2 separate regions of the Homo sapiens genome follow, and region 1 is linked to region 2. The links are contacts of gene promoters, found by promoter capture Hi-C in human tissues and cell types (Jung and others, 2019). All regions are on one chromosome and are shown on one strand. The core of a region is centred on a gene start or on the middle of the fragment in contact, and the rest is flanking DNA. Distances in the headings are between cores, read along the strand shown. Region 1 overlaps LINC02964 (long intergenic non-protein coding RNA 2964). Region 2 holds the start of TATDN1 (TatD DNase domain containing 1).

What was found. The method cuts DNA at HindIII sites, captures the fragments that hold promoters and counts their contacts. A contact is called where the count stands out against the background at its distance.
Region 1: a fragment that was not itself captured here is called in contact with the fragment with the promoter of TATDN1 in region 2 in 1 of the 25 tissues and cell types used here (small bowel).

What each region holds. Positions count from the first base shown.
Region 1 is chr8:125,649,407-125,656,865 of GRCh38, reverse strand. It overlaps LINC02964 (long intergenic non-protein coding RNA 2964), which reads right to left. Exons shown (of 7, transcript XR_001746072.2): 6 at 6,593-6,633. Among named protein-coding and RNA genes, the nearest start is that of LINC02964, 130 kb to the right of the region's middle. RefSeq lists an enhancer at 566-1,765. The HindIII fragment of the contact is 8,617 bases long and covers 1-5,983 here.
Region 2 is chr8:124,534,306-124,540,920 of GRCh38, reverse strand. TATDN1 (TatD DNase domain containing 1) reads left to right here and starts at 1,836. Exons shown (of 12, transcript NM_032026.4): 1 at 1,836-1,896. The coding sequence starts at 1,875. NDUFB9 (NADH:ubiquinone oxidoreductase subunit B9) reads right to left here and starts at 1,798. Exons shown (of 4, transcript NM_005005.3): 1 at 1,634-1,798. The coding sequence starts at 1,734. RefSeq lists an enhancer at 1,906-1,975. The HindIII fragment of the contact is 5,555 bases long and covers 1-4,647 here.

The DNA.
Region 1 (7,459 bases), core at 426-2,925, 1.1 Mb before region 2:
CACAACTCCTCATACTGTCTCTCACATCTAAGTCCTTCTTGCTGGGACGCTCGGGCCATGTTTTCCACTCCCCACTCCCACCCCTGACTCATTGTCAGGCAACATCCTATTTATTCATCCTTAAGTGCTGGACATCTCGCCCTCGCCCCAGGCAGATGCAGCCTCCCCTCCAGTGGGCTATTAGAGCCCCTCCACATTCAGCACCACACTGATCAAGCTGCCTGTGCTTGCTCACTTATGGCCTGCATCTCCCACAATGCTGGGAGCCTCATGGGGGTTGGGGCACATGATTTTTTTCCCCAGAGTTTAATGCAGCACCTGCAATATAGGAGGTGACAGCAAAGATTGACTGAATAAATGACCTAACAATGGGAAGAGGTGAGACATGAGGGAAGAGAGGAAACTTGGGTCCAGATTTTGAGTTGGGAGTTGGGGGCAAAGGAGCAGGACTTTGGATTTAATGTGTTTGATTTTCATTCTGCGGACAAGGAGGGGACTCCACGATGAGTTTGAGGAAGAAATATATCCTGCTTATCAGGTTGCAATGCACGAACATAGGGAGAGAGCAAGGCTGGAGACAGACAAATATGTTAGAAGGCTTTCGTGACGGTGCAGACAAGAAATGGGAAAGCAAGCACACTACTCATTTAAAGAACCCTTTAAAAAACCGAAAGCAGATGTTCAAAAGTACATCTTGGTTGTGACCTGAAGACTGGCAGCATTCCATGAGGCCAGACTTGACTGCTGTGGACCAGTCTGGGAAGGGCTGGGAAACTGTTCATAGGAGCTCTAAAGGAATCGACATGAATCAGTGGAAGCACTGGCAAAAGCACCCCTGGGAAACCGCCTATTATATGACTAAGGCTTTGAGAAATCTCTGGTGATGGCCTGGCAGAATGTTCGGCAGCTGAATCTGTCATTGAAAACCTAAGAGGGCTTCTGGGAGCGTGTGTATTACGGGCTGTGGGAATCCTGGGTCATAAAACTTTCGCCCAGCCGCTGGAGTGCCTGACTGGGCAATTAAGGAGGATTCTTTCAAGCAGATCAAAAGGCTCTGGTGAGGTGATCTCAGGAAGCTTCCTGCCCTCCCTGTGAGGAAGGTAGGAGTCGGGCCTCATTATCATCATTTTACAGATGAGAAAAGTAGGTTCCCTGGTGACTAAGTCCCTTGCCTGAAGTCAAACAGCCAGCAAAGGGTGGGACCCAAAAATAAGCATATCAGTCACCTGACTCACAGGACATCGTTGCTCCAGAGCTCCCATCCCACAGAAGATGGCCTGTTCTTGGGAAGTCTGAGCCGCATTTGGAATGTTAGGGCACGAGGTGGTCTGCAGGGGCTATCTCAACCACTTGACACACACGGATACTTCCACACACACCCAGAGACTTGGCATCAGCTTTCTGCAACATCAAATGTCTTGACAGTCTTCTCACATTAGCCATTTTATGAAACCAAAGACCTCAACTTAAAAATCACAATGCAGTTCACCCCTTGGCCCACCTATAGGCAAAGCATTTCAGAAGGCATACACAATTGTAGCAGTCATCTTATGGAACTTTTCCCCAGGTTCGTAGAGTTGTGCCTGGCTTCAAATGGCTGTTCTACCCCTCACTATTCCCAGGACATTTGCAAGTTACTTAACCTCTCTGAGTCTCAGATCCCACATATGTGAATTGGAAATATGTAGGCTACCTCTCTTACTGTGTTGTTGGAAGGATTCAGTGAGGTCTGGAATGTAAAGTATATGGTACAGTGCCTAACATGTAGTCATCAATAAAAAACATTAGCAATTATTAATCACACTGATTATACAAGTGACCCAAGTACAAAATGTAATTCTATGTTTTCTTTCTGTTCACAGTCTGGCTACTAAGGAATTAAGTCAAATCTTAATATTTAACCAGTTCCCTCCCTTCCAGGCCAAGGAAATTTATTTTTACTCTTAATCTCAACCACCTGCCATGTTTTACAGAGGAGGTAATTACCCTTAGTGCAAAGGATACTTGTTATAGGAAGACTCTAAGAGTCTCAGAGATGGGTCTAGCTTGTGATGGCTTCAGAATCTCCTCTGGAGCCCTGCCTTGGGCCTTCTTAGTCTTGTCACTGCTGTCTGGTCATCAACAGGTCCAGCATCCAACCAACTAAAGGTAGCCAACAAAGAAAGGCCAAAGGCTAGTTCCCAGTTGCAAGATGACATATACTTCTTTGGTTGTGACTCCAACAGCATCCTTGAGTTGCACAGTGTCTCCTGACCTGGAAGACCATCCCTCCAAATGAGCCCTGGTCATCCAATGTGCTTGAAGAGGCATGTCCTATTATAGGCTGTTATTCTTTTTGAATATTATGGCTGCACTACATGCACATCACTGTTCTGTGCTCATCCCATTAGCACATCCCACAGGTCACCTGCAGTTGGGTGACAGCTCCTGTATACTCCTCCACCTTCTTACTCTAAGTTCCTACATCTCTTGGACTGTGGTCTTTATCTGCCACAGGAATGCACTTGGCCCTCTCTCAGGGCAGACCAGGGAGATAATGCTTCCAACTAATAAAGGACAAGCATTAGTAGATAAATGCCCTAGTGGCCTCAGCCCCAAGTGGACAATTCTGAGATATGTCCCATTCTGTTTCTCAATGGAGTTCTCAGCACAGTTGAGTCTCAGATGAGTGCAGCAGCAGCTACTCAGTCATGCACCCTTTACTGGCGGCCTCCTGCCTTCCTTGACTCCCTTCCTCACTCCCCTACCAGAGCCTCCTAGTATCACCTCCAAATTAACTGCTGGCACCCAAGTCCTTGTCTGGGATCTGCTTTTGGGAAAGCCCAAACCAAAAAAATAAAAATAAAAATAATTCAATAAAAATAGCCTTTCTTTAAAAACGGCATAAATAATTTAACTAATACAACTATATTAAATAGACATTGGCACTGAAATACAATATGGAACAAAACTGACAAGCATGAAACCTCTTGCTTGTAGTGCTCTCTCTCAACAGAGCGTAGTGCTCTCTCTCAACAGAACAACTACCACTGAAATCTTCCAGGACTTTTTCCAATCACACCCCAAACTCCTGCGTTCCCATAATCTCCCAGGTATTGAAGACTTCCACCTTATTCCTGGGTTTTCCAAGGGCTTTATTGCCTGTTAGGGGCCAGGATTACGATGAGACCAATGAAGTCAGGTTGTACAAATCCAAGGCTAGAGCCAGTCTTTATTTAAAAGTTTGACAATTTGTTCATCATCTTTTGGCAGTGATTTTGAATTTTAAATCATTGCTTTAAAATTTAATTTATCTTGATTACTGAGGTTTTCAGCATCCCTTAAATTTAGCACCCAAAGTTAGTGCCTCACTCACCTCATATTATCCCCAGCCATAAATATGAAGTGAGTCCTACAAGAGCCCATAGCCAGCTAGTGTGAAGCTCTCCAAAACCAATTAATTAGACTCCTCAGGGCCAAGATGGAGCTGTTCATTGGTTCATTCAATGTCAACTTACTACTATACTCTTTGATCCTTTTCCTTCCAGCTCCCAAACTTAAAGGCAAAAAATAGATCAGAGTACTCTGTAATTTTTTTCCTGCATGATCCTCAGAAAATATTTGCTTACCTGAGGCAAGGCATGTTCTCAATAACTTATTCAATGAGTGTCCTTCTCATCCTAGATGTACACCTCATCTCCATCAAAAAGGGTGCCCTTTACTTAGCTCTGCAGATGTTACATGTTTAAAACACTGGCTAAGAGGGCTCCAGTAAGCCTATTTTCCACTAAGACTTTTTAAATTTAACTTTGGGAGTTTTGTCCTGAAAAATGTGTAAGTATTTGGAATCTATAAAAACAGTTTTGTTGTTTTGGTTGTTGCTGTTGTTGTTGTTGTTGTTTTAGACGGAGTCTCATTGTTGCCCAGGCTGGAGTGCAGCAGCGCAATCTTTGGTCACTGCAACCTCCACCTCCCAGGTTCAAGTGATTCTCCTGTCTCAGCCTCCTAAGTAGCTGAGACTACAGGCACCTGCCACCACGTCTGGCTAATTTTTTTGTATTTTTAGTAGAGATGGGTTTCATCATGTTGGCCAGGTTGGTTTCGAACTCCTGACCTCAGGTGATCTGCCCGCCTCAGCCTCCCAAAGTGCTAGGATTACAGACATGAGCCACCACGCCCAGCCCAAAGACAATTTTTAAACAAAATTATTTCACCTAATGTGCTGTATCTTGAGTGTTTTTTAAATTTTCACATGTGCCTTATAGTGGATGTATTTTCTTTTTGGTTTTCGATTTTTTTTTTTTTCTATTGCCGTGTAACACATTGCCACAAACGTAGAAGTTTAAAACAACAGTCATTTATTTTCTCACAATTTCTGCGGGTTAGGAGTTTCGCATGGCTTAAGTGGGTTTTCCAATTAGGGTCTCATCTGGCTATGGCTCAAGTATCGGGCAGGCTGCATCCTCATCTGGAAACTTAACTGGGGAAAAATCAACTTCCAAGCTCATTCAGGTTGTTGGCAGAATTCATTTCCTTGTGGCTCTCTTAGTGAGGGTCCTGGCTTTTTTCTGACTGTTGGCTAGAAGCCGTCCTCAGGTCCTAGAGGCCCCCACAGTTCCCCATCATGCAGGCCTCCCCAACATGGTTGCTTGTTTCATCCAGCCCACAAGGAGAGTCTCTGATACAGAATCTGATATAACATAACTCAATCACAAGAGTGACATTCCATCCCCCTTGCCATATTCTGTGGGCTAGGAGCAAGTCACAGTTCCTCAGGCAATCGACAGAAGGAGATTATACAACAGCATGAACACCGGGAGGTAAGGATCATAGAGGCCACCTTGAAGTAGGTGCCACAATAAGAGTCTCTGCCTTAACTTTAGCAACTGTCACATTCTCTGCCAGAATACCCTCATCTCATACCCTCCCATTCCACCACTAGAAGGCACAAATACAGCTCACCACCACCAACTATACAATTTCTTTGCAGTCACATATTTTTACCTTAGAAATTCTTGTGACATTTGCATTTGCATTTATTCTATAATGTATCCCAACATGTTTTTATATAAGAATTTATTTAATATTTACTGGTCAGATAGTTTAACTCTTCATGTCTTCAAATGGAAACAAAGCTTAGGAAGATGTGCCATGTTTTTTCATATGCAACTGTGTACTTCTGTTGGAGGACAGTTTAAACTGTATTTATCCTAGTTTTCAAATCCCTTAAAGTTTGCCTGGAAGACCTATAGGGTGGACCTATAAGAATCTATTTGCATAAGTCATTAAGCCTCCTGGGAAGAAATGCATTCTAAGGAAAAGTTACCCAAACTTTGTTGATTTTTTCACATTTTACAACATGTATGATATGTTCTGCATTTGAAAACCACCTGTACTTAATACTTTTAATTAACTCCTTTTTTAAAATTTACCCTCTTCTTTAACAAAAACAATAACCTACACTTTTCCTAGTACACTTTAAAATAAAGTGGCTAATGACTAAATGTTTTATTTTTTTGTTTTTGTTTTTGTTTGTTGAGATAGGGTCTTGCTCTACTGCTCAGGCTGGAGTGCAGTGGTGCGATCATGGCTCACTGCAGCCTTGATCTCTCAGGCTCAAACAATCCTCCGGCCTCAGCCTCCCAAGTGGCTGGGACTACTGGTGCATGCCACCAAGCCTGGCTAATTTTTTTTTTTTTTTACTTTATGTGGAGACAGGGTCTCACCATGTTGCCCAGGCTTATCTTGAACTCCTGGTCTCAAGTGACCCTCTTGCCTCAGCCTCCCAAAGTGCTGGGATCACAGGTGTGAGCCACCACGCCCAACCTGACTAAATGTTTTAATCATAATTTGCTTAACATCAAAATTCATTTCACCCCCACCCCAGCCACCTGTGGTAAGCAGCCTCTAAGATGATCCCCAATGATTCCTGGCCCCTTGTTATTCACAGCCTTGTGTAACCTGCTTCAGAGTGTGAGCTGGACCTAGTTACTAGTTTCTAATCAATAGATTTTGGCACAAGGGATGATACATCACTTGAAGAATAGGTTATAAAAGACTGTGACTTGTGTCTTGTTTGCCTTCTGCCTCGCCCTATCACTTGTTCATTACAACAAAGCCAGCGCCATATTGGGAGATACTCTATGGAGAGATCCATGTGGAAAGAAACTGAGGAAATCTTCTAGCCAGTAGCTCCTGAGGCACAGAGACCCTCGGCACAACAGCCGGCAAGAAACTGAGTCCTACCCCCACCAACCCCAGGATGCTGGGAAGCAGCCCCTGCCCTATGCAGCCTTGCCATGACCACAGCTTTGGGAAAGACCCAGAGCCCAGAGACCCAGTTAAGCCTCTCCTGGATTGCTGACCTTAAAAACTGTGAGACACTAAATGATGCTGTTTTAAGCTGCTAAGTGTTGGGGTAATTTGTTACATGGCAATAGATAACTAATACAGCCTCGACCAATGGTCAGTGCCCCACACTTTAGAGAACACCATCCTAAAGGGACCATGTTCCAGTGGGACACTATTCCAGTGTAGTAAGTGGAGCAATCATGGAAAGTAGAGGGACAAGTTGAGTGCAACGGCTCAGACGTGTCCAGATACGCTTCTTTACCTCTGCCTTGGAGCTTGTTCCAGAACCTGTGAGGGTGAATGCTGAAACAGAAAAAAAAAAAAAAAAAAGAATTACTTTTTATTAAAATCTCCTTGAGTTACTGGGAGGCAGCGTGGCCCTGCTTTGGGGCAAATGTAAGTAAACAAGATGCAAAAAGACAGAGGCATCGGGTCAGGATGGATCACAAGGTGACACTGGATGAATGTGGGATCCCCAGTGCAGACACCAGCCACACCAACCTTGGCAAGAGCCTCCAAAGCTTGAGTGCAGACATCAGAGCAGAAAGCTGGAGCTGGGAAACAGAAGAGTAAATACTACATGAGAGACAGGGGGATGGAGTTCACATGGACACATGAGCTGTTCCCTGGGACTTCCAGAAATAACTAAGATGAGACCCTTGGCAGGGGATCCCAGACAGTAAGACAAGAGACTGACACAAGGTAAACATAAAGCAAATACAAATATGTATTGACAATCAATAAAATAAAAGGTGTAATGGATATTGTGACCCTGATCCTCCTCAAAGTCTAGGGTCCCCAGGGACTTAAGAATATGAAATATTCTCTTCCTAACAATATTGTAAGACCACAGTACAGGGTTCCGCCTAGCCTTCCAGAGTGTGATGTAAGAAGGGCATTTATCATTAATTCCTCTTTACAGAAGAGGAAATGATTTCACTCGGCTCACACAGCTGGTGGGTCTTGATAGACTTGGAACCAGAACCCAAGGCTTTTGATTCCTCATCTAGTTTTCTTCTCCAGGTTGTCCCTTTAATTTCCATCATTACCCCACCCTTCCCACTGGAATAGTGCCTTAATGCTGTTCCTTCAGGATGGTGTTTTCCACAGTGTGGCATAAACCGTAAGT
Region 2 (6,615 bases), core at 587-3,086:
TGGGATTATAGGCGTGAGCCATCATGCCCAGCCAACAGTCGTGATCTAACAAGCAATTCGAACTACAGCTCTAGAGACAAATGAGCGCAGGTGGTGACAGCACTAAATGAGGCTGCCCGAGTACATACAACAACACAGTATGCCTAGGATGGAACCACAGAGAACAGCACAATGAGGGCAAATGGAGGAAGAAATTAAGGCAAGGATTGAGAAAGAATGTCAGATCTAAAAAATGCTGAGCCATAACTGTCATAGTAGCTAGTTTATATCATTTTCCTCTAGAACTATGGACTTTAGTATTCCCAGCTATAGTTCAGTATTGCTTGAATTCTTTTTTTCATGTTTAACTTTTTTTGACACATAATTATTGTACCTATTTATGGGGTACATGTGATATTTTAATACATCCATATAATGTATAATGATCAAATCAGGGTAATTTGGATATTCATCACCTCAAACATTTACCATTTGTGTTGGGATACCTGAATCCCTGATGGCTCAACTTCCTTCATCATCGATTTGTTTACATGTCCATTTTCCCCACTAATCCGTGAGCTGCTGCTGCTCAAAAATGGATTTACTAACATTTATATATTTAGCATAGAGCATAGAATCTGAATTGCAAATTCTGTCAAATCAATAAATAAATAAGGAAAACTCAAGGAAGAAACTAACAATCCCATCACATTGTACTTGGCCATCTTCCTGCCAAATCAAGAGAAGTATGTCAGTGATTTTCTAATAGTCACATATATGCAATCTGGGCTTCGAGGGTACCCTCTGTAATTCTTCCAGGCCTACTCCATTTTCCATAGAGTTTTTTTCCCAGAAGGCCTTCTTATAAAACTACGTTTGGAGAGTCGTAAGACTGGAGTGGAGGCGAGGCACTCACACATCTTGGGTTGTTAGCCCACCCTGCAATGAATTTAGGTGATTAAAATCTACACATTTTAACACTATGTTCTCAGACTAGTCTCAGACGGATAGAGGTCGAAAGAGAATTATGTAAGAGGTGAAAAAGATGTAAAGGTAATGAAAAGGACTAGATGAAGCTAAAAAGAGAAAAGCTAATGGGAGGGGTGGGAGAATGATGATGCTTTGGAGAAAGACCTAAATTTTAACCCTGGCTCAGACACTTAGAAACTCTATCACCTTGCGCAAGTTACCAGCTGTGCTCATCTTCTTATCTGTAAAATAAGCTTAAGATAATTCCTAACTCCTAGAGTTTTGCAGACTGAAGAAAATAATGCATAGTTTATTGCTGTTAATATTGGAAAGGAGAAGATCGTGAAGAAAACGATTGAGCGAGCGCTGGACCCATGACAATTACAATTTTAGGCACTTTCCTTTATTTCACTTAATTTTCCTGCGACCCTCTGCGCTGGTCGTGCGTCCGTTTTACTAAACAAAAAGCTGACGCCCAGACCCGACAAGCAACTCTACAAGGTCTCCCGGCCATAAGTGGCGAAGCCTGGATTTGAACCCGGGTCTACCATAGGATTCTGTGAAGCGAGAGGCCACCTTCCAATTCCGTTCCCGAAGTCCTTGAACCTCCAGGTACCCAGGGGCCTCTCCACCTCCATGGGGCCCCGAGGGTCACCTCCCCGAGTCCTGGGTCCCCATCCCTTACCTCTGGACGCACCACGACTCGAGGTGGCGTAGCGCCCGCTTATAAAGCCGCAACACCTTTTGCTGATGGGTCAGGTAGGGTCCCGACGCCAAGAACGCCATTACGGCGCTGACCTTCCCCGGCCGCGCGGAGAGCCGGGAAACTGCACGCCTGCTGCGGGTGACTGAGCGGGGCCAGCCGGAAGGGCGGAGTTGCCGGCGGCCACTTCCGCTTCCGCTGGGGAGGTCCTCCATGCGCAGTCATGAGTCGCTTCAAGTTTATCGGTAAGAGGAGCGTTTTCCACGCCCTTGGGTCTTTCTGACTTGTCCCGGGCGTCGGTCACCAAGGTCACAGGACCCAGGAATTGCGCCCTCCGGCATTGTAAGGGTTGAAAGGGCCGCTCAGTGGAGGAGGGCGCGGGGAGGTTTCTGGGTGCTGGTAATGCTCTGGTTCTTGATCTAGGTTCTGGATTCACGAGGGTGTATTTATTTGTAAAAATTAACAAGCCGTACAGTTATGATTTTTGTGCTGTTTTCAACATCTGTAATGTATTCAGTTTTTTAAGAAGAAAACTCCAAAAAGGCCAATCACTATGTTTCCATTCATCCCACGTGCACCTCCCGGCCCTTCCCCTCTGCCTTGGCGGAGAGGCTGACCGCTTCTGGGGACCAATTCACTCAAGCATTCATTCGTTCATATCATAGTTAGTGAGCGCCTCAAGTGGGCCTGGCACTGGCCTAGGAACACAGGGCACAAAGCTCCCAGTTGTACTGTCATCACCATCTGGTGGAGAAACTAGAAAACACAAGTAATGGGGAGAAAAACAAACTGTACTTGGCAAGTACAATGATCCAGTCGGCATCAGTAGAACGAGAGGGAGAATGCTGCGGGATTTAAATGGGCATGATCCTCGTTTTGTGGGGTTTCCAGCTACCTGAAGGTGGGAAATGACAGTGATCACACCTCTGCTTTAGCAAGGTAATCCTGATAGCTATTATGTAGGTTTTGTGGGAAATAGGGAGAGGTAGGGAAGCATTTCAAGAGCTTAAACTAGGGTAATGGAAAAGAGAGAGAAATGGAAGAGATGTGTGCAGCATTTAGCAGCTGAGTGTTCATGGCCGGTAGTAGAGAGTGAACAAAGATGACTCAGGGTTTGGAAAAGTACTTAAATATGAAATGGAAGCATGACTAGTTTGGCGGTGAAGAGAGGTACCCAGGTCCATTTGGATTAGGTTAAGTTTGAGATAATTATAGGACATCCAGGTAGAGATATCTGGGCAATTGGGAATGTGGTCTGGCAATCAAGAGATTAGGATTATACATTTAGATCTGAGAGTTATTTAAGCAGTATTTTTTTTTTTCAAAGACGTTGTGCTAAGTCCTGTGGAACTGTAAAATCTAGTGGTGCAGTTTTCAGACTGGAGACCTAAGACCTATGTACTGTACAGTCAAAAGCAAATGCAGGGGAGAATATGTTAAGTGCCAGGAAAAAGGTTTTGAAATTGCTGTGGGAAAGCCTGGAGTAGGGGTTTGGGGAGGGGTTGTCAAATAAGACATTGCCGTGTCTTAGCCTTTCCATCCTAACCTTTGATATAATTGATGAGGGAGATGGAATAAAGAGCCATGAAGTACTCCGTAAAGAAAGGCCACATAACTTTTTAAAAGTGTGTTTATGTTATACAACCAAATTCCTGCCTCAAGTTAATGTCTTAAATCCATCCTCCATGTAGACTCCATTTTGGTGTATCTAAAAATCAAATCAGCTAAATGTTTCTTTTGCTTCAAATCTTTCATTTACGCTCCTCAGGATAGCCTAAATGCTTACACACCATACAAAGCCCTTCTGTGGTCCAGTCCTGCCCACTTTTCTAGCCCATCCCTGGGCTGCTCTATAAACACTTGTGCATGCTGTTTGTTACCTCTGACAAGGTTTTAGAGTGGCAGTTTGGGGCCAAAATATTCCTCTGCCTACCAACTACCCTGTTGCCTGTCTGCCTACTCACTCCTTAAAACTTATACCACATTATTTATAATTAAATATGAGTATGCCTTTCCCACTAGATCAAACTCTTAAGGCAGATACTGGTATGGTATTTATATTTTTTTCCTAGGGGCGTAGTACAATGACTGTTTGGGAAAGTATGAATGAGTGGCTTTAGTGCTAAGGTGATAAGAAAATTAGTAAAGGGATTAGCATCAGATAAAATAAGCAAGAAAAGACTTCTTAAAGAAGGTGACTTTATTGGAATAAATAATTGAAATAAATTTTTTTCTGTATGGTTTCCTTTAGCCCCACTCTCCTAAAGTAACCATATTAAAAGTTTGAAGTATAGCCTTCCCTAATTTTTTAATAGATTGTTATACAGATTCATAAAAATACAACATATCAAGGTTTTTTTTTTTCCTTTTGAAACAGAAATGAGATCATATTATGCATTCTATCCTTGGTATATGACTTACTCTGATATTTAATCTTTCAGTTTGTGTCATTTAAAAAATTCTGCCCATGAATCGCTAGACTAATTTCTTAGCCTAATAATGAGTTCTGAACAATATTTTGAAAAACATCATATTAAATCCCTGGAACAAGCTTCACATGGGACAATTGCATGAAAAATTGAACCCATTTTATGAAAATTACCTTAGATTTTGGTTTAAGACAGCTGACCATTGTAATTCTTTCTACATTTCTCTCTTTTCTACTTGCATAACAAGTGGCTGCCCCTTAGAACTATACCCCAACAGTGGGGGTTTTTGTTTGTTTTGAGACAGGGTCTTGCTCTGTCACCTAGGCTGGAGTACAGTGGCTTAGATCATGGCTCCAGCATTGACCTCCTAGGCTCAAGTGATCTTCCTGCCTCATCCTCCCAAGTAGCTGAGACTAGAGGTGCTCACCACCATACCAGGCTAATTTTTTTTTGTAGACCACTGTGTCCTGCTATGTTGCTCAGGCTGGTCTTGAATTGCTGGCCTTAAGCAGTCCTTCCACCTCCGCCTCCCAAAGTTCTGGGATTACACGTGGAGCCACTGGCCAGCATGAGAATTTCTTTAGCCCAGCTTATACTCTCTTTTCTGTCTCCACAAGTGGAATTCTATTCCCTGGGTGTTATTTACAAACTCTTCCACTCTCAAAAATACTTCTACCTGTAACTATTATATGCCAGAATCTCTACTGCATTGATCTTAGACTACATAGTACACCAAAAAATGAGAAATATCTGTGCAAGAAGAAAATGCAAAATACAAACAACAGTGAAAATAAAAACATCATATTCCATTCCTGATATAGTTTAGATATTTGTCCCCTCCAAATCTCATGTTAAAATTTGCTCTCCAATGTTGAGGTGGTCCAGTGGGAGGTGTTTGGGTCACTTCCCAACATCCATCTCATGGGGGTGGATCCCTCATGAAAGGCTTGATGGCCTCCCTGTGGTAATGAGTTCACACTGGCTCCCCTTCCCTTTCCACCAGGATTGGAAGCTTACTGAGATCCTCCCAAAAGCAGATGTTGGTGTCATGCATCTTGTACAACCTGCAGAACCATGAGCCAAATACACCTCTTTTCTTTATAAATCACCCAGTCTCAGGTATTCCTTTATAGCAATGCAAAAGCAGATTAATACAGTTCCTCCAAATCACACATAACACCACCATGTCTATCTTTCCAGATCTTCTGTAGGCATACCAAACAAAATAAGATCATACTGAGGCTACTCTTTTGTGCTCTGCTTTTTTCAATCACAGTCTCCACCTTTCCATTTCAGGAAATGTTCATCTTAACTAGTACCAAAATCATACTCAAATTTTTCCTGTTGTTCCAAAAATGTCCCTTGGTGGTCATGTCCAAAATGGTATCCCATTTAGAGCCACACATTTGGTTGTTCCTTAAATTTTTGAATCAAGTGCAGAGGTTTGCAAACTTTTTCCTTAAAGGGCCATATAGTAAATATTTTAGACTTTGAGGGCCACGTGATCTCTATTGCAGCTATTCAACTCTGCCCTTTTGTGTACTGTGATGTAATAGTAAATACGTGTGTGTTCTCTGCTCCCATTTCTTTGTGCACAACTCCTGAAACCCTTGGAATCTCCTAAGTGCTAAGTGTCTTTTTGTATGCTGCTAAGATGACTGATGGCTGGGGGCTCCTGGATAGCCTCAGGATGGGGGTTTGCCTAGGAAAACCCATCATGTGATTAGAGAGTTGGAAGTTTCAGTCCCTCCCACCCACTCCCACTTCTGGGGAAGGGGAGAGAAACTGAAGGTTGAGTTGTTCACTAATGGCCAGTGATTTAATCAATCATACCTACATGGTGAAGCCTCTATAAAAACCCATACATGTCTCTATGTGTCTCTTCCACCTGGCCGTTTTTGAATGGCATCTTTTTACAATGAATGGGTAATAAGTAAAGTGCTTTCCTGAGTTCCGTGAGCTGCTCTAGCAAATGATCAAACCTGAGAAGGGGGTTGTGGGAACCTCTTATTGTAGCCAAGTTAGACAAGTTGTGGGTAACCTGGGAACCTACTGCTTGTAATTGGTATCTGAAATGGGGAGAGTCTTGTGGGACTGAGCCCTTGACCTCTGCGGTCTGATGTTATATCCAGGTAGATAGTGTGAGAATTGAGTTAAATTATAGGTCACCCAGCTGGTGTCAGAGAATTGGTTGTTGGGAGAGGAAACCCCACACATACCTGACGTCAGAAGTGAATCCTCACGCCTGTAATCCAAGCACTTTGGGAGGCCAAGGTGGGAGGACTGCTTGAGCCCGGGAGTTCAAGACCAGCCTGGGCAACAAAGTGAGACCCCATCTCTACTTAAAACAAACAAACAAAAAATTCAGAGTATTGTGAGTATGAGAATACTGTAGGAGAAAGCAGTTTGCATTTTTTCCTATCTCACACCTTGTCATTCAAAAGCAGGTGATAGACAGTATGTAAATAGGTGTGGCTATGTTCCAGTAAAACTTACGGTCACTGAAACTTGAAGTTCTTATAATTTTGATGTGTC